2 separate regions of the Homo sapiens genome follow, and region 1 is linked to region 2. Evidence: promoter capture Hi-C in human tissues and cell types (Jung and others, 2019). All regions are on one chromosome and are shown on one strand. Each heading gives the region's core, a stretch centred on a gene start or on the middle of the fragment in contact. The rest is flanking DNA. Distances are from core to core; before and after follow the strand shown. Region 1 has its middle 190 kb from the start of LINC02338. Region 2 holds the start of PCDH17 (protocadherin 17).

Evidence for each region. Contacts are between HindIII fragments. The study calls those that stand out against the background at their distance.
Region 1: a fragment that was not itself captured here is called in contact with the fragment with the promoter of PCDH17 in region 2 in 1 of the 25 tissues and cell types used here (H1 embryonic stem cells).

Annotation. Positions count from the first base shown.
Region 1 is chr13:57,968,442-57,973,232 of GRCh38, forward strand. No RefSeq gene overlaps it. Among named protein-coding and RNA genes, the nearest start is that of LINC02338, 190 kb to the right of the region's middle. The HindIII fragment of the contact is 5,221 bases long and covers 330-4,791 here.
Region 2 is chr13:57,629,077-57,633,484 of GRCh38, forward strand. It overlaps PCDH17 (protocadherin 17), which reads left to right and starts at 2,668. Exons shown (of 4, transcript NM_001040429.3): 1 at 2,668-4,408. The coding sequence starts at 3,471. RefSeq lists enhancers at 631-1,216, 3,175-3,854. The HindIII fragment of the contact is 5,195 bases long and covers 1-3,786 here.

The DNA of each region.
Region 1 (4,791 bases), core at 1,690-4,189, 340 kb after region 2:
TCTAAACTCTTACAGTTTAAGTTGGGTACCAAACTACATGAGGACAAGGAGTGTTGCTGATAATGACATACCCAAGGCTAGGTAATTTACTAAGAAAAAGAGGTTTAATGGGTTCACACTTTCCATGTGGTTGGCGAGCCCTCACAATCATGGCAGAAGGTTAAAGGCACGTCTTACATGGCAGCAAGCAAGAGAGACAATGAGAATCAAGCGAAAGAGGTTTACCTTTATAAAACCATCCGATCTTGTGAGACATATTTACTACCAAGAGAACAGTGTGGGGGAAACTTTCCCCATGATTCAATTATCTCCCACTGGGTCCCTCTCACAACACATGGGAATTATGGGAACTACAATTCAAGACGAAATTTGGGTAGGGACACAGCCAAACCATATCAAGGGGTATCTCTATTGTTTACCAGTTGTTTTTCAACTTTAACACAGAACCTAAAATGGCAGTTTCTTATTCAACATTTGTGGATTTTAAATTTGTAGATAATTTTTTTTCTTCATGGCCATATATCAAGATATTTGGTACTTATGTTTCCAGGCACATAATAGGTTAATCAGTAAATGTACGATGAAGGAAGAAGGAAAGGAAAACCAAGCAAGCAAGAAAGAAAAGGAACCAAACCCAGTGGCTCACACTTGTAATTGTAGCTACTCTGGAGGTTGAGGCAGGAGGATGGCTTGAGTCCAGGAGTACCAGACCAGACTGGGCAACATAGCCAGACTCTGTCTCATTAAAAAAAGAGAGGAAGAGAAAAGAAAAAAAAAAGAGATGGAGAGAAAGGAGGAAAAGAAGGAAGGATTGCTTTTTGCTTTGATTTTGCCATTGTCTATCTGGGAAACTAGTTAAATCCCCTCTGTCTATGCCCTCTCAATATGAGCTACTATTAAAAATTGAATTTAAATAAAAGTATTTTTCTTAATTCAAATCAACTGCCTCTTCTTTCCTCTTCCTTTTCTCATATGTTGCCCTAGATCAGAGAGAACACAGAATGTCATTAGTAAGCTAACGTTTATGCAATGTAAGGGTAATGGAAGAGGGAAGAACATTTCAGTAGGAAAACCATCAGTTTTCATGTGAATTGCTTTTTTGACTAGTATGCAAGCATTAAGTTTTAGTGAGGTGAATCATGTTAGAATTAAATCCCCTATATATTATTTGTGATGCTTAAAATTGTTTTCAAAAGCATTTCTATCTGGCTTTTCTAATATGTAGCACTTTTAACAATATATCCTGACTTAAATTGATCACACTGAAATTTAAATCAATGCATCTAATTGTGTATATCAACTACTATAGGCAATGTGGTGCCTTGTATGTTGTAAAAAAAAATGTAACAGGAAGAAAAACCAAGCTTCTACTTAGGTCATTGTTATTTTAGAGATAATGGTAAAGAGATTTTTAAAAATGTTAAATTTTGACCTCAGTGCCAGGGATCTTTTATAATAATTAGAAGAAAGAAACAGAAAGAGGTGGGCATTGCATGCCTACCTTACTAATAGTAAATGTCTGTGTCCTCAGGGTTGACCCTCACCTCCCTACTCCACTACATACACAGTTACTTGTTCTACTTTTGTCGGGTTGTAAAACAAATTAAAATCTTTAGCTGTGAATGCTGTGGTTGGCAGAGTTAGAGCAGTAGTAGTTCAAAGAATTCCATCTGGCAAGCAAGCTCTAAAAACAAAAATAAACCTTTTTCCATCTCACAGAAGTCCAGAGAGAGAGATTAATTAAAGTCAATAGAGAAAAAAAAAAAAAAAAAAACACTTCCTAGTATTGTGATGATGTTGAGCTTTTTCCTACCCTCTGATGACAAATTCTTTCTGTTTTTACACTTATGGTCTTTGATAAAACAATAGTCTCTTCAAGTAAAATTCAAACATTACAATATTTATAAATAAATCTCCTTGCTGAACCCATATTTTAGGAATCTTAAAAGAGTTGACAATATGAATTCTGTCACATTTACATATTATACTCTTCTTTCTTATCCAGTTTTAACTTCTGCACAGTCATTAATCTTTGGGGTTGGGTTTATTTTTATGTAAGGTTTAACATTTTTCTTAGTCTCTTGACACCCTGTAGCATTTGCTTACCACATTTTTCCCTTTGAGCTCAAGTACTTATTTAAATGGCATGGATAGCACTAGATATCTCCCACACTATGAGGAAATTTGCATAAACACCCTTAGAAGCCTCTGAAGTTCTTGGTGAACATAACGTTGCTCAGGATAATAGGATGCCTGGACAATGGTTTGTCCTTTGATTCCTGACTTTTAGTTGTGGTTTCAGGATCACTTTAGAAGAACCTAAAATTCCTTTAGGTTTTTGTTTCTGTGAGAAGGAAAAAAAATGCTAAATCAAAGCTCCATAGTGTGCTTTCAGTTCTACATTTTAACAGACACTAAAAGCCAAAGAACCAAACTGTCTCTGAAGTATTGTTGGGTAAGATAGCTGGGGAGGAGGGAATACTGACTGCTTTGTGGTGAAAAAAAGAAATCCAGGGATTCTTTGTGTTGAATGAGATAACATAGCCGTTACATGTTCTCTTACATGGCTAGGAAAAATGACTTTCTTCTCGACTTCTTTTCTTTTCCACCTCTTCCCTTACCTCACCTTATTGGCTCATTTGCTCAGTGGGAGAAAGAGTAGCTGTTATGCAAAGTCCATGATGTAGTGAGGAGAAAATCCTGAGGTTATATTGTATTTTGTAAGATGGTTTTATGTCACCAAATGATGCACAACTGGCAGGATAATTCAGTCTGAAAAATGTATTTCCGTTGTTAAGTTACAAGAGTTCAGGAGAGTAATGATACTTTAACAGCATATGGTTTAATATATTTATTTTGTTTCTTGGTTTTATACACTTGCTTTGATTCAGGTTTTATTTTCATTTTAAAGTATTACGAGATTGTCAAAATACACTTTACATTTTTATTCCTGTTATTTCTAGCTTAAGTCTGCAGTGACTATTACAAAACTGTAAAGATATTTAAAGTCACAAAGGCATTTGTTACACTTCACATCATACTCCAGTACCTCAGATCTTCCTCCCAGCAGCACAGTATGGATTAAAATCATGGATCAATTAAAGTTCAGTTTACTTCCACAATATATCACATCAATACTATCAAGTTGCCTGTGGTGTTAGAAGAGGACTAGCAGTTCAGCATATTGGAAAATGGAAAAAATTCCTTTGTTTTCTTCTTCCTTTCTCAGTTTGAAAGTAAACCAGACTGTTTTACAGAAGTGAGCAAAGCTTAAATATGTTTTGATAGTTGTATTAGTCTGTTCTCATGCTGCTAATAAAGACATAACTGAGACTGGGTAATTTATAAAGGAAAGAACTTTAATGAACTCACAGTTCCACATGGCTGGGGAGGCTTCACAATCATGGCAGATGAAGGAAGAGCAAAGGGACATCTTACATGGCAGCATGCAAAAAGAGCATGTGGAAGGAAACTCCCCTTTATAAAACTACCAGATCTCATGAAACTTATTCACTATCATGAGAACAGAAGAGGAAAGACCAACCCCATGATTTGATTGCCTCCCACGAGGTCCCTCCCACAACACAAGGCAGCTACAATTCGAGATTTGGGTGGGGACAGAGACAAACCATATCATTCCCTCCCTGGCTCCTCCCAAATCCCATGTCATCAGATTTCAAAACCAATCATGCCTTCAAACAGTCCCCCAAAGTCTTAACTCATTTCAGCATTAACTCAACATCCACAGTCCAAAGTCCAAAGTCTCATCTGAGACAAGGCAAGTCCCTTCTGCCTATAAGCCTTGTATTAGTCTGTTTTCATACTGCTGATAAAGACATACCTGAGACTGGCAAGACATACCTGAGACATACCTGAGACTGGACGAAAGAAAGAGGTTTATTGGGCTTACATTTCCACATGGCTAGGGAGGCCTCACTATCATGGTGAAAGTTGAGGAGGAGCAAGTTACATGTTACATGGATGGCAGCAGGCAAAGAGAGAGCTTGTGCAGAGAAACTCCCATTTTTAAAACCATCAGATCTCACAGGACTCATTCGCTATTAGGAGAACAGCACAGGAAAGACCACATAATACAATTACCTTTCACAGGGTTCCTCCCACAACATGTGAGAATTGTGGGAGTTACAATTCAAGATGAGATTTGGGTGGGGGCACAGCCAAACTATATCAAGCCTGAAAAATCAAAAGCAAGTTAGTTACTTCCTAGATACAACAGGAGTATAGGCATTGGGTAAATACAGCCATTCCAAATAAGAGAAATTGGCCAAAACAAAGGGGCTGTAGGCCTCATGCAAGTCCAAAATCCAACAGGGTAGTCAAATCTTAAAGCTCTGAAGTGATTTCCTTTGACATCATGTCGCATATCCAGGTCACGCTGATGCAAGAGGTGGGCTCCCATGGCCTTGGGCATCTCTGCCTCTGTGCCTTTGCAGGGTAAAGGCTCCCACCTGGCTGCTTTCATGGGCTGGCATTGAGTGTGTCTGCAGCTTTTCCAGGTGCACAGTGCAAGCTGTCTGTGGATCTACCATTCTGGGGTCCGGGGAACCATGGGCCTCTTCTCACAGCTGCACTAGGCAATGCCACAGTGGTGTCTCTATGTGGGGGTTCTTACCCCACATTTCCCTTCCACACTGACCAACAGATGTTCTCCATAAGGGCTCCACCCCTACAGCACACCTCTGCCTGAACATCCAGGCATTTCCATACATCCTCTGAAATCTAGGCAGAAGTTCCCAAACTCAGTTCTTGACTTCCGTGTACCCACAGGCT
Region 2 (4,408 bases), core at 1,418-3,917:
CAAGAATGGAGGTGAACAAAACACCGAAACTAGTGTGTGTGTGTGTGTGTGTGTGTGTGTGTGTGTCGGGGGTTGGGGGGTGGGTATCCACTTTACCTTGAACCTGGGCTGAGATGGTGAGGAAGGATGACCAAAAGGGGTAGAACCTTAAGTAGTATTTAGCCGGATTTGAGTTTACAAAGCTTGTATTGACAGTGAGCCTTTCTCCTTAAAGGAGAGGCTCTATTTCTCTTAAGAGACATAGCCTCTCTTTCAACGGGAGTCTGCTTTTCTTCTGAAACACTTTCATAATTAAGTGACTTTCCTTGCATAGGTGCCTGAGGACAGCTGATTTTTCTCAGAGGATGAAGAAAGTTACATATTGATTGCTGTTGCTCGCGGCATGTTCGTACCAGCGCGGGCAGAAACGGGCTCACGAGCGCCCTCGAATTCACACACACTCACCGAAATACACATCTCAGCCCGTGGAAGCGCATTCACACACACCCACGTACACTCCTCCGCACCTCATTCAGATGGGTCCACGCGGAGTCAGGGCTGCGCTTCCCTTGGCATGGGCGTGTGTGCGGCGAGGGCGTGTGTGCGTGCGTGTGTGAGAGTGTGTGTAGAGAAACCCTTTAGGCAGACCGCAGCTACGTTATTCTGCAAGCATACTGCGATTCCCGATTCCGTGTATGTAGGACCACAAAAAAATTAAATCGCTGTTAAACTTTTTTTTGTAAATTCTCTTTTCCGAAGGAAGGCGCTGGAAGAGCTACTCCCGGTGGTTAAAGGCCCGGGAGACCTGGTGGCGAATCCTGGGGCGCGTCCGCTTTGGCGGAGCGCTGGGCTCCGCTAGCCGGACTGGTTCCCCATCTAACTGATCTAATCAATGACTCCGAAGAGCCGGGGCTCCTGGCCCCGCCCCCGCCATCCTCTTCTCCGCCTCCCATTGGACGCGGGCCGAGAAGGCAGGGCCTTGCTCCTCGCTCGGATTGGCTGACAGGGAATCAGTATCAATGTTTAAGCGGCGGCGTGAGGTGAATAGAGTCAGTCAGCAAGAGACGCTGGGGAGAGAGCAGGGATCGCGAGCCCGGCGGATGCGGCAGCGGCGGAAGGCGGCTGGGGAGACGCTACTCCAACTGTTGAATTGAATTTTCACCTTTCCTTTCATCCGCTGCTTTGCTTGCGGAGATGGATTTATTTGCTTTGAAATCCGCATATCTTTCTCAGACTGTGGGGTGATCCCGGCAGACACCAGACTGAAAGAGACCACCCGTGACAGAAAAGGAGGAATTAAAAAAAAAAAAAACCTCCACAACAGACTGCACAATTAACTGTACACATCGATGTTGGACTTTGTGAATAGAAAAAATTGAGAGGAAAATCTTGAACTATGATGCGAGGCTAAGCTGGGAACAATTACTGGAAACCTGATTTTGTTTTTCCTTTTCCAAGACTCTGAAAAATTTCGGGGTACCTCTCGCCTAACCAAGAGGAAAGGTTTAAAAAAAATAAACAAAATAAATAAACCAATACACCTAGCAAAGCAGACGCCTTGTTTTCCAGAACCTCGGACTCCGGCAGAAAGAGGTAGAGTAAAAGTGCTGCTAGATTCAGCTTCACCTTCTTCCCTCCATCCTTTTCTCTTGCATTTTCTTTTTCCCCAAAAACATGAATCTGGTTTTTCTTTCTATAGACTGAGTCAGAGAAAGCGTTAGGAAGAAGCCGCAACTAATGTCTGTGAAGGGAGGACCATGAGGCGAGAGTGAATACGATTCGTTCCGCTGCTTCTGACTCATCCGGCAGATCGGAACACCTGCATTTCTGGATGTGTCATTCCCGTATGTCGAGGCGCCTCCAGAACCCGAAATAATGTGTAGACAGACCTGTGTCTAACATCCCCTCGGAGGGAGCTCCCCGGGGTAGGAGCCCCTGGCTGGACCGCCGCGGCCGCAGCTCTGCACCCCCTGCCCTCCCTGAGTCGCCCAGAAAAACTGAAAGAGAGACTGCAGAATGCATCACGCCAAACCTTGATGTGTTGCTTTCATCCAGCCCACTCCTCCTACTATAAGAGAAAATTGAAGGAAAAAAAAAAACACGTACTTTATTTGCTTCAAATATTCATCACTTTTATTCCTCGCCAAGGTTTTCTTTTCTAGATGAAGAGGACTGGGAGGCAGGGCTATTGGAAGGAGATGCTGAATAGAAAGAAAAGAGGCACTTGACAGCCCAGCCCTGTGAATGCAGAGACTGTTTCCCTTCTAGCGAGAGACAGGGAGAGTGTGTGTGCAAGGACTGGGAGGGAGGCTCCCCCTTCCTTTTTATTCGGCCTCCCCCCTCCTCCTTTAAATGTGCACGTCCAACCATGAGTTGCCTGTTGATTTCCCTTCGCCTGGGAAGAAAAGCAAACTGGAATTAAACTGCTTGGAGAGAAGTCCTTGCTCGCGGGGAGAGGATGGGATGGTAGCGGAGGCTACTGGCTTGGCGTAGAGAAATCAGAGAGTGTGTTCTACGAACAGAGGCGAAGATTTATCTCTCTACTTCCCCCCTCCCAATAGACTCACACAGCAAATGCTGATCAGGCTGTGGCTTTCTTGATTTCGGGGGAGAGCCTTTTCCGAGGAAGAGAGGGAGGAGCCTGGTGGGGAGAGGAAACTACAAATCGGGACACTAGTTCTTTACGCTGCATTTCCTCCCCTCCCTTTGGCTGCTCGGAAAGGAGAGAGAGGAAAAAAAAAATACGCTTGGCTGGTAGATGCAGTCCGCCGCCGCCGCTGCCTCAGCCAGCAATGCAAGATTAGATCTCTAAATGCAGCAAAACACTGCCTGAAAACAGACCGGCCCGCGCAGCAAGCAGACATTTCACGGTGCGCTGGGGAAGCTTCAAAATATATCTGTGACTCTGTCTTCGTTGCTCTTCATCCCCATCAATTTCATCACGGGAGGCGAGCAGCAAGTAAGAATTTCACTTTCGGATCTGCCTAGAGACACACCTCCCTGCTCCCTCCCCCACTCGATGTGAAGAGTATTCCGGAGTCTCCGGGCGGGAGTAGATTTGCAGCACCCTAGCGGGAGCGAGGAAAACCTACTGATTCTTTAGCTCATTATCATCTCTCCCAGACGAGATTTCCTTCTTATCGCCTGCCTCATCGCTCAAGTTTGAGCCTCCCGAAGTCCGGGCGGGAGAGACGAAACCCCTGGCTCACCCCCAGCCGCAGGAAGCCACCGCCTTGCTCCAAGCCCCTGCAGCTCTGCTGCACCGCAGCTTCTCACCCAGTGCGGATGCTGTAGATCAACAGGTTCAGGGAACTTGAGCAGAATAAGGAGAGACCACCGGGTGCCGCAGCTCGGGTGCAGAGGGAAAAAAGGACCCATAGACTTGTGGCTCGCGTCGCGCGCGCACGCTGCGCCAGGGCCCCAGGCTGGCGCGCACTCCCTCTCTGGCTCCTCCAGTCCGATTGCTCCTGCCCCCACCTTACAGGTCTGGGATGTACCTTTCCATCTGTTGCTGCTTTCTTCTATGGGCCCCTGCCCTCACTCTCAAGAACCTCAACTACTCCGTGCCGGAGGAGCAAGGGGCCGGCACGGTGATCGGGAACATCGGCAGGGATGCTCGACTGCAGCCTGGGCTTCCGCCTGCAGAGCGCGGCGGCGGAGGGCGCAGCAAGTCGGGTAGCTACCGGGTGCTGGAGAACTCCGCACCGCACCTGCTGGACGTGGACGCAGACAGCGGGCTCCTCTACACCAAGCAGCGCATCGACCGCGAGTCCCTGTGCCGCCACAATGCCAAGTGCCAGCTGTCCCTCGAGGTGTTCGCCAACGACAAGGAGATCTGCATGATCAAGGTAGAGATCCAGGACATCAACGACAACGCGCCCTCCTTCTCCTCGGACCAGATCGAAATGGACATCTCGGAGAACGCTGCTCCGGGCACCCGCTTCCCCCTCACCAGCGCACATGACCCCGACGCCGGCGAGAATGGGCTCCGCACCTACCTGCTCACGCGCGACGATCACGGCCTCTTTGGACTGGACGTTAAGTCCCGCGGCGACGGCACCAAGTTCCCAGAACTGGTCATCCAGAAGGCTCTGGACCGCGAGCAACAGAATCACCATACGCTCGTGCTGACTGCCCTGGACGGTGGCGAGCCTCCACGTTCCGCCACCGTACAGATCAACGTGAAGGTGATTGACTCCAACGACAACAGCCCGGTCTTCGAGGCGCCATCCTACTTGGTGGAACTGCCCGAGAACGCTCCGCTGGGTACAGTGGTCATCGATCTGAACGCCACCGACGCCGATGAAGGTCCCAATGGTGAAGTGCTCTACTCTTTCAGCAGCTACGTGCCTGACCGCGTGCGGGAGCTCTTCTCCATCGACCCCAAGACCGGCCTAATCCGTGTGAAGGGCAATCTGGACTATGAGGA